Linked DNA regions of Homo sapiens: region 1 is linked to region 2. Evidence: promoter capture Hi-C in human tissues and cell types (Jung and others, 2019). All regions are on one chromosome and are shown on one strand. The core of a region is centred on a gene start or on the middle of the fragment in contact, and the rest is flanking DNA. Distances in the headings are between cores, read along the strand shown. Region 1 has its middle 22 kb from the start of TRIM36. Region 2 holds the start of YTHDC2 (YTH N6-methyladenosine RNA binding protein C2).

The links. Contacts are between HindIII fragments. The study calls those that stand out against the background at their distance.
Region 1: a fragment that was not itself captured here is called in contact with the fragment with the promoter of YTHDC2 in region 2 in 1 of the 25 tissues and cell types used here (small bowel).

Annotation. Positions count from the first base shown.
Region 1 is chr5:115,188,729-115,194,982 of GRCh38, forward strand. No RefSeq gene overlaps it. Among named protein-coding and RNA genes, the nearest start is that of TRIM36, 22 kb to the left of the region's middle. The HindIII fragment of the contact is 4,821 bases long and covers 1-4,504 here.
Region 2 is chr5:113,511,809-113,517,925 of GRCh38, forward strand. It overlaps YTHDC2 (YTH N6-methyladenosine RNA binding protein C2), which reads left to right and starts at 1,886. Exons shown (of 30, transcript NM_022828.5): 1 at 1,886-2,274; 2 at 3,464-3,554. The coding sequence starts at 2,088. LOC124901046 (a long non-coding RNA gene) reads right to left here and starts at 1,850. Exons shown (of 2, transcript XR_007058905.1): 1 at 1,623-1,850; 2 at 51-1,132. RefSeq lists enhancers at 1,642-1,691, 1,688-2,189 and a silencer at 2,142-2,371. The HindIII fragment of the contact is 6,758 bases long and covers 1-4,159 here.

The sequences.
Region 1 (6,254 bases), core at 844-3,343, 1.7 Mb after region 2:
GAAGTTAAAGAATTTTCTTAATTATAAATAAATTGTGCTTAAGGGAAACCTGGAAGCTTTAGTAAGTTTCTAATTTTTAAAATTATGTGCACCACCTTATTTATATTTTCTAAATGACTATTCCAAGTGGGAAATAAATACAGTAATACAGTTATGTCTTCACCTGCCAACCAACACCACAGTTATGGTCCAATGAACTGTATTTTATGGTATATAGGTTCAATATTCACTTTTCCTCCTTCTTTGTAACAGAACGTTGAGAAATGTGCCCAACTTAAAAAGAAAAGGAAAACTCCTTTTGCAGCTTGCTTTGCAGAAAGGGTTGACCAATGAGGTATCAATGGGAGTTTTTATGTCCAGCTTCTGGGAGAGCTCTTTTGCCCTCTCTTTCCTTTCCTTCTAACTGAAATACAGTTCTGATACGTGGCATCCAACCACCATCTTGGACTACTGAGGAGAACCTGAGGATAGAAGTCATTCACTAAAATGGCTGGAGAGGAAAGAGGGAAGAGCCTGAATCTAAGGATGGTGGAGCTTCCATTCCAACTGTTGACCACCTACCTTCTATCTTCATTTACTCCAGAGACAATTAAACTATAACTTGATTAATTGATTAAACCATGTTATTTGAGTTTTCTCTTACATACAACCAAGCCTAGTCACAACTAATATAGCCATGTTATAGCTGTGAGACTTTTAGCAACTCATTTCTCTATACCTCAGTTTACTCATCTGTAAAAATGGACCCAATAACAGTATTGACTCAGAGAGCTGTTATAAGGATTAAATGAGTTAATATATGTAAACAGCTTAGAATTGTAGCCAACACAGACTAAAGACTCAATGAATCCTCTATTGTTACTATTCACTTGTACCACCTATAATATAATACCTGCAGAATAAATGAGAAAAGGAGTATGAAGAGGAGAAATAACATTTGTTTCCCACCGCCTTCTTCAGAGATGAAAGACCTGGGTAAAGAGCATAACAGAACATGTAACACATCATCCTTCTCAATTAAAAGCACTTTGCAGATTACAGGTCATTCTGTAAAGATACTCGAGTTGTTCTAATCCTTACCAGAGCTCTGAGATGAGGGTGAAAGTTGAAACTTGCTTAAGTCAACAGGTCATTTGCTTGCTGGCTCAAGAGCTGGAGCCCCAAGTTCACTGTTCCAATAAAGGCCAAGTTGGCTTGGTTCTAGTTCATGACCCTAGGCACGACAGTATACTTAGCTTTGGTTAATTGTCCTCTGAATAGGATTCTAAATTTAAATCGTGTGGGAGAAGACATGAGGAGGTCTGAGCCATGCTCCTGAGAAGCTCCAGGCATCTTCCTTCTCCTGCTGTGACTGGCTCCACCTGCCAGCAGGTGTGTGGGGGTTGTAACTAAGCCTTTTTGTTTTTTAAAGGGAAATTTCCTGAATTTTTTCAAGGAATCTATTTTTTCCTCCAGCTAATTTATTTAAAAGCCTTCTGAGCCTTTGGGTCTTAACTTTAGGATGACTCCCCAGTGAGCTCTGTTCACATCTTAATATAATAATGATAACAGCTAATATTTTTTAAGCTCTCATTATAGGTGAGGTACCATTTTAAGTGCTTACTCATATCATCCTACTTAATCCTCACAAAACTCCGCAAAGTACTATTGTATTTGCCTTTTACAGATAATCACCCTGAGGCACAAACAGTGGAGTGACCTACTTACTCAAAGTCACTAGGAGGGGTGGTGGCAGAGCCAGGTGAGACCCCATGGTCCTAGCCACCACCCAGTACTCTTGTCTCATATTTAAAAACTCTCCACTATCTGCCTTTACTTTTCAAGCCTCAACCACTCGGAAGGGCCTGGGCGTGTTTCTTTGCTCAGGTGCCTTTGATTGTGGTCATATTTGAATCTTGTTATTCTACATGCCAGTCTTCCATTACTCACAAAAGATAATAAAATCCCTTAGGTGATGTCTTCCACTGCATCAGCTACCCAGGTTGTTCTGTAACCTCGAACTCCTGGGCTCAAGCACCCCTCCTGCCTCAGCCTTCTCACTCGTGGGGTATCCTTTTTCTTCCCCAAGCATTGTAAACTTATCCCTAGACTCCACTTTTTAAATCCTCGTCTGGACACTAGGGCCTTTTCATTGTGTTAGGGAGACTCAGAAAAGGAAAATGTTATAAAAGACCAGTTTTCCCTGATGGCTAAACAATTAGTGGCATAATTTACCAAAGAATTGTAGCCTGTGAGACACAAGATGCTGAATACAGCCAAGCAAATACTTTCTCTACTCTTCTTAGCTTAGGAAAGTGGATATGAAAGGAAGGATGTTAACTGTCTCAGGCTATGTCATGGGCATTTGCCTTTGACAGAAGGACCTCCTAGGATGAGGGGAGGTGGTGCTGACAGCAAGCAGAAGGAGAAGAGGACCCAACAGCTGGCTGCTCTTCATCCCTCAGAGAATGGCATGGAAAGAGAGCAAATAATTTCAAAATACATGGAAAAACATTTAGATAGCACAGGCAATTTATTTGGAACCTCCATATCAGGAAATTGCTTCTCTAATGCAGTGACTTACTACTGAAAAGAAAAAAGTCTCTCATGTTTGCAAAATGGGCTTTGTACAGTGCCTCACACTGAGACCTAGAGATCTAATGAGAATGTGGATTATTAAATTTCTCACAGGGAGGAAAGGGGCCCAGGAAGTGTCTCCCAGATCTGGTTCACAGCCTAAGGAAAAAAATGCTTATGCCTTACTATCAAAGGGTAGAAGAAAATAGCATTAATCTCCATTGTCCTGATTAATCACTCCTAAAGGTATAAACAGAAAGTTCAGGTCGGTTACCACCCTCCTAGGAGTGCCAGCATATTTTACAGTCCACAAAATCCGGCGCAAATCTCCCTTCCCCATTCATACCTCAGAGACAGAAGAGTAAGCCAAGTTATTTGAACTATGATTTTGCTATTCGTATATATCAAAGCGCTTTCATGTTCTCACAAAACTTGAGTTCCCGAAAGTAAGATTGATGCCCTGCCAGGAAAATTGGCTTTAAAGTAGTCCCACTACTGCTATTGAGTAAACCTTTCAGAAGAGCCCTCAAGGCTTAAGAAATCAGACATAGCAGAGCCCCTACAGAACTAAAACACATTTCCCCCTAACCAGGATTCACCTGCACTTCAGGCTGGGACTTTTTTCCTAGGGCTCAATACTCACCTCCTGCCTGGCGAGGTATCTTTCCTCCCAAGCTCCCTCAACACCTTTTACACATCTGTCGTGATACATAACTTCTTGTACTGAAATTGTCTATTGATACATTTGTCTCTCCCCAATTACACCACACTGTCCTTGAGCAGCAAACAGAATCTTTTTCAGTTTTATTAGGTTGGTGCAAAAGTAATTGCAGTTTTGCACTGCAATTACTTTTGCACCAACTTAATAGCTTCCCAGTGCTTACAATACATAGTAGGTGCTAGTTAATATTTGTTGAATTTAATGGAATTGAATTCATCTGGCCAGTTTTCCTGCCCAGCCTGGAATGGCACTGGAACAAGTACCATACAAGGCTCCACACCCAGCTATGCTGCCATTCTGGTGACCTTTACTAAGCCCTTCCCTATGGCAGATATCATTACTATATAACCCAGGAATCATAAAAGTTGCCACCTGGATCAGTAGAAACAATAAAAACATATATCCCTGTCTATAAAGTGCCCTAAGCTCTTCAGAGGAGAGAACGATGGGTTTGGTTCAAGGTTTCTATAAAGAAGATGGTATATTAGCCAGCACAGTAGAATCCCACAAATACGACAGGACTTTACTACATGGTGTATACTTTTTTTAAAAAAATAAGCTTTTTAATTTAGAAAAGTTTTAGATTTACAGAAAAATTGCAAATATAGTACAGAGTTCCCAACTATTCTGCACCCGTTTCCCCTTTCATTGACATCTTACATTAGCATGGTAAATTTGCCACAATTAATGAGCCAATACTGATGCATTATTATTAACTATATTCAGATTTCCTTAGGTTTTACCTGGTGTCCTTTTTCTTTCCAGGATCCCATCCAGGATACTACGTTACAAATAATTCTCCTATCTCTTCTTGGCGGTGACACTTTCTCAGACTTTCCTTGTTCTTGATGACTGTGACAGTTTTAAGGAGTACTGGTCAGGTATTTTGTAGGATGCCCCTCTTTTTTCTTTTTTGAGGTGGAGTTTTGCTCTTGTTGCCCAGGCTGGAGTGCAATGGCGCGATCTCGGCTCACTGCAACCTCCGCCTCCCGGGATCAAGCGATTATCCTGCCTCAGCATCCTGAGTAGCTGGGATTACAGGCATGTGCCACCACGCCTGGTTAATTTTTTTGTATTTTTAGTAGAGATGGGGTTTCTTCATGTTGGTCAGGCTGGTCTCGAACCCCCGACCTCAGGTGATCTGCCTGCCTCGGCCTCCCAAAGTGCTGGGATTACAGGCATGAGCCATCGTGCCCGGCCAAGAACATGATTTTTAAAGTTGACATATACCAGCTAGGAATTAGAAAGAACTTCTTAGTATCTAAAAAAAAAAAAAGACTGACCAATATCTACATTTTTGGTGGGTAAAAAGCACTGAACAACAATTTACTAGACAGTGTTCATATCAGAAGATGTTTTCTTCCATAACTTATTTTGACATGGTTTAGTTCCTCATTGCTATCACTTTATTATATAAACTGACCATTAAAATACATTAAATCTTGAAAAGATGGACCTTGATTTTATATCTGGTCTGAGTGATAAGAAATGGATTTATATGCTCTCTGGCATTTTGTGAAACTGGCCACAAATCAGAGGACTACAAACAATTATTTTGAAATGACTTACAAATATTATATACATTATCATTTTTAAGAGGAAGTAATTTTCCAGCAGAAATGGCCAACAAGATTACCTGATTTCTCCAATAAGCATGAATTGCATACATATCATGTACTGTGTTTACCTCCTAGAAATTAAAAAATGGGTAAATCAAAGATACTGACACCAAGAGCTCAGAGACTGCTTGGGAAAATAGAGAATAAACAGAATTATGGTACAATGTGGTAAGTACCATAATAAAGGCACATAGTCAGAACTAGGAAGCAAGAGGAAGGAAGGCTTTATAATAGGCTGGTCGCTCCCTCTGCCTAGATCTGCTGGGGCAGGTGAAGCTTGGCTTTTAAATTGAGAGTTGAACGATAAATAAGAGTTCAAAAGGGCAGGTAAAGAGAATTAATTCTAGGCTAAGAACCACCTGTGCAAAGGCACTAGGGTAGCGAGTACAGTGCCTTCAGGTGTTAGATACTTTACTATCATTGGGTCGGAAAGAGGCAGTTACCAAAGATGAGGCTGGAAAAATAGGTAGGGAGTAGATCTCCAAGGCCTTTTAAAGCATGCCACGGAGGTAGACATTACCTGTAGACCAACACTTCTTAAATTTTAATGCTCATATGACTCATTTGGGGACCTTGTTAAAATATAGATGCTAGCTGGGCACAGTCGCTTGCACCTGTAGTCCCAGCTACTCAGGAGGCTGAGGCAGGAGGAGTGCTTGAGCCCAGGAGTTCAAGGCTGTATTACACTATGATCATGCCTGTGAATAGCCACTGCACTCCAGCCTGGGCAGCATAGATAGGTCTCAGGTGGGGCCTGAGCGTCAGCTTTTCTAAAATGCCCCAGATGATGTCCTGCTACAATAAAGTTGGTCTACAGACCATGTGTTAAGTAGCAAATATTTACAAATTACAAATTCTATTACCTGGAATGAATTCTATATACTAAGACATACCTTCAGCCCTTGAAAGGAACTGGGACACGATTCAACTAGAGCTTCCAGGATGGTGAATTCTGCCTATAAGTTGCCTCCTGGGTTTACTGCGGGTGCCCTACAAATGCAATAATTTTTTTCGACATGTTCTATGATGTGAAGACAGTGGGGAAGCAATGTAGCACAAATAATCCAGTCAGTACTATAAGAACCACAATTTGGTTTTTTCGGCTGCGGGGAGAGGAGTGCAAACAGTCCCAGTTACCCAAAGCAGCTGATATTCATTGTCAGCATGGCCCAGAGCCTTTTTCCCCCAGTAGTAATCATTTGGAGATTGAAATCTTGGCTCCAGTTCACCTCTGCAGTGGGACTTAATTCATGCCAGACTGTGGTGGTTTCTGCAGCAGTCCAACTCTGCCAAGGCTCAAAGTCCAAAGATTCTGTCATGCAGTGGCAACAAAGGAGGAGTAGAATTAAAACATAAAA
Region 2 (6,117 bases), core at 636-3,135:
GGGGGCAAAGGGTGGGAGGAAATATCCCTAGCATCAATAATAAAATCATGTTGGTTATATTTTAAGACTTTATTACTCTACCAGGTCAATTTTATAGATGAGAAGAGAGCAGTCTCCAGACCACTGTGCTGTGGCATGCTCGTATGCCACAAGTTGTTTACAGGCATATCAAGATGTTGATGACCCCAGTTCTTAGGCAACTGGGTACAAACTGGAACGGGTGAAGCTAGTTCTTTCAGCCTAGTCACTTATGCCCAAGATCAGCCTTATCATTGTACAAATATATTAGTCAGAATAAGCTAACTCTTTGTATCAGTTATCTACTGCTGTGTAAGAAACCCAACCTAAAACTTAGTGGCTTACAGCAATATTCATTTTATTTGTTTATGTGTTCTGTGGGTCAACAGTTTGGACTATGTTTAGCTAGGTGGTTTTGCTAATCTTGCTTTGGGTTGCTTACAGAGTTGTGGTCATCCAGCAGCTTTTCTAAGACTAGACTTTCCATTATGGCCTTTTTCACGTCTTGCCCTTGGTGCTGGTGGATGATTGGGCCATAGTTGTCAGTGGGCTAGCCTAAGCTTCTTTACTTTGTGGAAGAAGAATTCTCAGCAGCAAAACAGGCTAAGCCTTAATGCACAAACACCTTTCAAGCCCCTGCTTATCTCGTATTTGCTGATGTCCCAATGGCCAAAGCAAGTTACATAGCCAAAGACAGAGTCCATGTGGGAAGGAAGAATACAAGGGTGTGAACAGAGGAATGTGTGATTCATCAAAGGCCATACCTTTGATGAATTCAACAATTTACCATAATGTTACAAAAAAAAATCTTCCCAAATCTCAGCAGTTTACCACAACTAAGAATTATTTCTTACCCATGTCATATTCCAATGTGGGTTGGTGAGGACACTCTATCACACTCGTTCAGGGAATCGGGAACCTGTTATCTATCTAGTGGTTCCACCGTTGTCTAAGAACTTCCAGAAGACCAGGAAAGACAGAGAAGGGAAGATTCAAGGAAGGTGTTATAGACCAATCCTGGAAGTGGTATACATCAGTTCCAGCAACATTCCAATGGCCGGAACTCAGCCATGTGGCCCCCAGCTAACTGCAGGAGAGTTGGGAAATATAATGCCTAGGAAGAAAAGATACTTCTTGTCACCAAATATTCCGCCCCCTTCTTACCACACACAGAATACACATATACCCTCCCCAGACACCTGGAATTCTATCTAGTCACTGCATCCAGGATCTGTTGTTGATACACAGTCCTCTTTATTAGATCCAGATGTATATCCTCATTGCCAGGTAACTCATGAACTATGTAAATATGTACTACATACCTGCCCCCACTCAGCTACCCTGTGTAGCGTGATAGAGCAAGGGTGGCATACTTGCATTAAAATCTCCCATTCAGAAAAGGGAAGAATGCAAGACACACAACAGTGGCTCATTCTTTAGTATATGTATTTTTTATGATATTTTTCCAAATATTGCATGGGAAATATATACACTAAAAATTATTCGTTTATCTGAAATGCAAATTATTAAGCATTCTGTATTTTTATTTGCTAAATCTGGCAACCCTCCTCCCACTAAAATATAAACTCCATGAAGGTAGGAACCTTGGCTCTCTGGTTCTCCAATGTACATCGAAGGCGTGGCATAATGCCAGGTCCACAGTAGAAGCCCATACATGCTTACTGCAGGAATTAATGAAGGACTAAACGAAGTAGCAAGTGAGTGAATAAGAAGATGAGGAGCGACCCTTGGTGGGCGGCGCGGGAAGAGAACCGCACCATAGCTCCGCAGACAGCCTCCTTTAGGCGCGCAGCGGCGGCCGCGCTGAGGTCACGGGCGCCGGCCCTGGTGACGTCATTACGCCCGCGCTCCTCGCCTGGCCGTGATATCAATGGCGCAGGCTTCACTTCTGCTGTGGCGGTGACTGAGGCCTTTCTGGTGACCTCAGCCCAACACAGGCCGTCTCCGGAGCTTCCCGGTAGTGGCCCCGGATTCCCACGGTCTTTGTCATTGGCTGTCAGCTAGCAGGCCTGGCCGCTCCCGTGCGGAGAGACCATCTCTTCAGGGCAATGTCCAGGCCGAGCAGCGTCTCCCCGCGGCAGCCGGCTCCTGGCGGTGGCGGAGGCGGCGGCCCCTCGCCTTGTGGCCCTGGGGGCGGCGGCCGGGCCAAGGGGCTGAAGGACATTCGCATTGATGAGGAGGTGAAGATCGCAGTCAATATCGCGCTGGAGCGCTTCCGATACGGGGACCAGAGAGGTGAGGTTCCGGACAGGGACCATGCTGGCAGTCAGGATACCCCCCTCACCCCAGCGCCCCCCAAACGGCGGCCCACCGAGTGATGGGGGTGCCTCCGAAGAGGGAGGGAAGACCCGGGCCACCGTCCGGGGCGGGCCTCAGCGGCGGCACCCGGGTCTGGAACGCGGCTGTTGGCCCTGCGGTGGAATGCGAGGTGCTCTGCGGATCAATGGGGTTATGGGCACTTTGCTCCCTAGCTGAAAGTGTTTTTCCCCCGCGTCTTTCAGCAGCCTTGGGCGGTTAAGCCACCGTGTTTCAGATATTGGTTAGCCCTAACCCTTTTTAAGGGGGTGTCACCTAATTGTGGCACGTTTAAGCTACAGATGTAGAAGAGCAGAAAGAAATCAAACATATAAATAAATGCACCAGCAATACGTTTGGACCCTGAAGCATCACGCTACCCACTTAAATTAAACTTGTTTGGCACACGAAGCATCTTCCACACCTCTTGAGGTTAGATAGCCACTTGTCTTGGGTCATATAATGCAGAACCAGCAACTGACCTGCGGTGACCTGTGCAGTCTGTTGAGGGCTCATTCGGACCTGCTGGCTTAGTTAGGGGACCTCTTACTCTGGAATCTTATAGTCCAAAACGGGGAATGTTCTAGACAGAGAGATTCTAAATTCACATTAAAAAAAGAGAAAGCCTCAGCAATATATAACAAATCCCTCTGAAATAGTGAAATACGAATTCTGTACAGTTTTGAAAGCAAAGACAATGGAGTTTCATGTTGAGAATTCATAATATTTGAACATATCTCATCATTGAAGAAAATAAACATTTTGTTAACTAAACAAGTAGGGACCAAGTTAAATATGTTCAGTCATTATACCAACTCAAAATTCCAGAACAAGTAAGAGGAGTCGTTTTTGGTGAATATCAGAGGCCTTTATCACATTTAGGTTTAATACATAGCTGTCTTTTTATTAATATCAGAATTCTGATAGACATTCAGTAGTTATTGAATTAATAAAATATCTTAATTTTATTAATTTACATAAATAGAATATGAAATATAAAGTTAACCTCAAATAAAGTATAATAAATTTGATTGTCTATGTATGTTTTTCATATTTTGTATCTGTGTGTTTTACTTGAGAGAAAATTGCCTATCTACAAATTTTACTACTTTGTTTTTTTTCCGTGTAGAAATGGAATTTCCTTCTTCTTTGACCAGTACTGAAAGAGCCTTTATTCATCGACTCAGTCAGTCTCTTGGTTTGGTCTCTAAAAGTAAAGGGTAAGCTGGTAGCTTTTCTTATTTTTTTTAAAAAAGATTATTTGCCCAAAAAAGGGAGAAACGTTTCTGAGTACATTTAAGTACTTATTACTGTTTTAACTTCACATTCTTAATTGTATCATATGTAGATAAAAGATTCAGGTCTGTACCAAATTCAACTCTTTCCTCTTCCCTCTGTCTACCTCTTCCCCCCTTTTTTGTTTTGTTTTGTTTTTCCCTAGGAAAATGCTTTTTCTTCTACCCAGCTTAGGTTCCTTGGCTGGGACCCTGCAAATTAGACTGATAAAAGACATATTAACAAGAGAAAAACATAAGCTTATTAAGACATGCATCATGCATACATAGGGGAGAACTCGATAGTAACTCAAACATGGGGCTTATGTGGCATCTTAATAAAGAACAATGAATTTATTTAAAAAATGACAAGACAAAGGAAAAGGACTTTGAACTTGTAGGTGCAGTAAATTGTGGGAAGGTATATGTGGGGAAACTAATGGAAGATATGTGTTCTTTTAGCAAGGTTGGTTATGTAGGTTCCCCTGGTGCTGTCTCTATTAAGAGTCTAGAGTGGTTTCTCTTGTTAAGAATAGTCCTTCCCTTTCTGGTAAAGCAGGGGAAGGCGGAGTTTTTCTTATGTCTGCTTCTTCTCGATTGCCTTCAGCTCAAAATAATCCTTATGGCAGAGTGACATATTTTTGGGTGGCATACCGTGAACTCTTTCAAAGGTAAATTTTAAGATGTAAGAAAAAAATAGTTTAAAAGTTGAAGTTGATTGCTTGAGAAAAATATTTTTATTTTTTGATAGAAATCTCATTTGAAAAATGGATGTACAAAAGATAGTTGCAATTATTTATGGAACTTACTTCTTTTACTGTTACTGCAATATAATAATAAGCTTTAGAGCATATGTTCATTGTTTTCTTTCCTACCAAGTCAAGGATCTGATGATTAGAAATGATTTTAAAAAGTGGTACAGGAGGAAATTGTTTTGTTTTGTTGGGAGGATCACAGAGTTACATTGAGGGAAAAGTCATTTGAGCCATCCAAATTGAAAAACTCTAAAATTCTGTGGCGCTATTTCATTTTGTTAATAAGGATGGTGGGATCAATGTAAAGGAAGCTTTCTCACTGTTGGTGCTATTGACATTTTGGACTGGATAATTCTTTATTCTGTTTTGTGTACTGTAGGGTGTTTAACAGCATCCATAGCCATTACTACTACATGCCACTAACACTCCTAACCCCAGTTGTGACAACCAGAGATGCTTCTAGAGGTTGCCAAATGTCCTCTGGAGAGCAAAATTGCTCAGGTTGAGAACTACTGACATAGAGGGAAGAAAAGGATAAAATTTCAGCTTACCGGTATGTTTTTAGGTTAGGAAGAGGGAAAACAAAACTTTATTAAGTAAATATATTAATAAATATTCAGATGGTCCCAAAGTGAAAGCAGCTGATGTAGGAATGTCTTGCATATGACTGCCTACTACAGTGATAAATTACTGAGACACGGGATTTAGTTTAGGTGAATGTGCGTTTTGAACATCACTAAGGCCAGTGCTGGAACAGTGGTTAGATTCCTGAATGTGCCCATCTTATAGTCCACTAGGTAGGTAAAAATACTGCACCTGAAAATAAAAATATAGTTCAGTGCCACAATACTTTATCCAGAAACACTTGGGCTAAATATATTTGAGATTCAGATTTTTTAGACTTTAGAAAGGTATTTGGGTATATTTGCAATATGTTGTATAATCTACCTAATAAAATATGGCCATCACCTTTAGTCACATTTATATTTTTGCTGGAAATTCTATGAATATTCACACTGAGACTATTAATAACCTCATGTCAGTTTAATCACGTGATCACATTTGATGTCAAATGAGGTTACTGCAAACTTAAAAGTTTCCAGTTTTTGGCACTGTTTGGGTTTACTAGTTGCAGGTAAGAGGTTTTGGGCCTGTGCTTGGAAACACATGTTATAAATGTACAGTTCTGTAGCTACATCATTTCTATGGTTACATGGGTCTTGCATTCTAAACAGCTAACTTAGAAAAGCAGTCCATTAGAGTAGACTTCCTGTCCTTCTCTTCAGTAGCATAGTCATGTAAGAGCTGATCTGGAATGAATAGATATCTTGGGAAGGAGAATTCAAGAAGGAAGTTATGGAGACAAAAATGGGGAATGCGGAAACATTGAAGAGCCAGAGAAAGAAGAAAAAGGAAAGAGATGCTAAGGGAAGCAAGGCAATCCTGCCTATTTATCCAGTCCCTAATACCTATAACCTTAATGCTTTCAAACCTTCTTACGAAATACCCTAGCTCCTTCTCTCTTTTTTTCATCTTTGAGTAAACTTTGTACTATATTTTCTTAGTGGTCCTTGTGATTTTCAAATGCCTTTTCTTCTTTTCACAAAAAGAAAGAAATCACTTTGAATCTACTTCTCAAATCCTTTCTTTTCATTTGTATGAGAATTTGTACCTGACTTATCCATGAAATTTTCTGTTCACCCTTTGACTTTATTTTATTTTATTTTATTTTTTTGAGATGGAGTCTTGCTCTG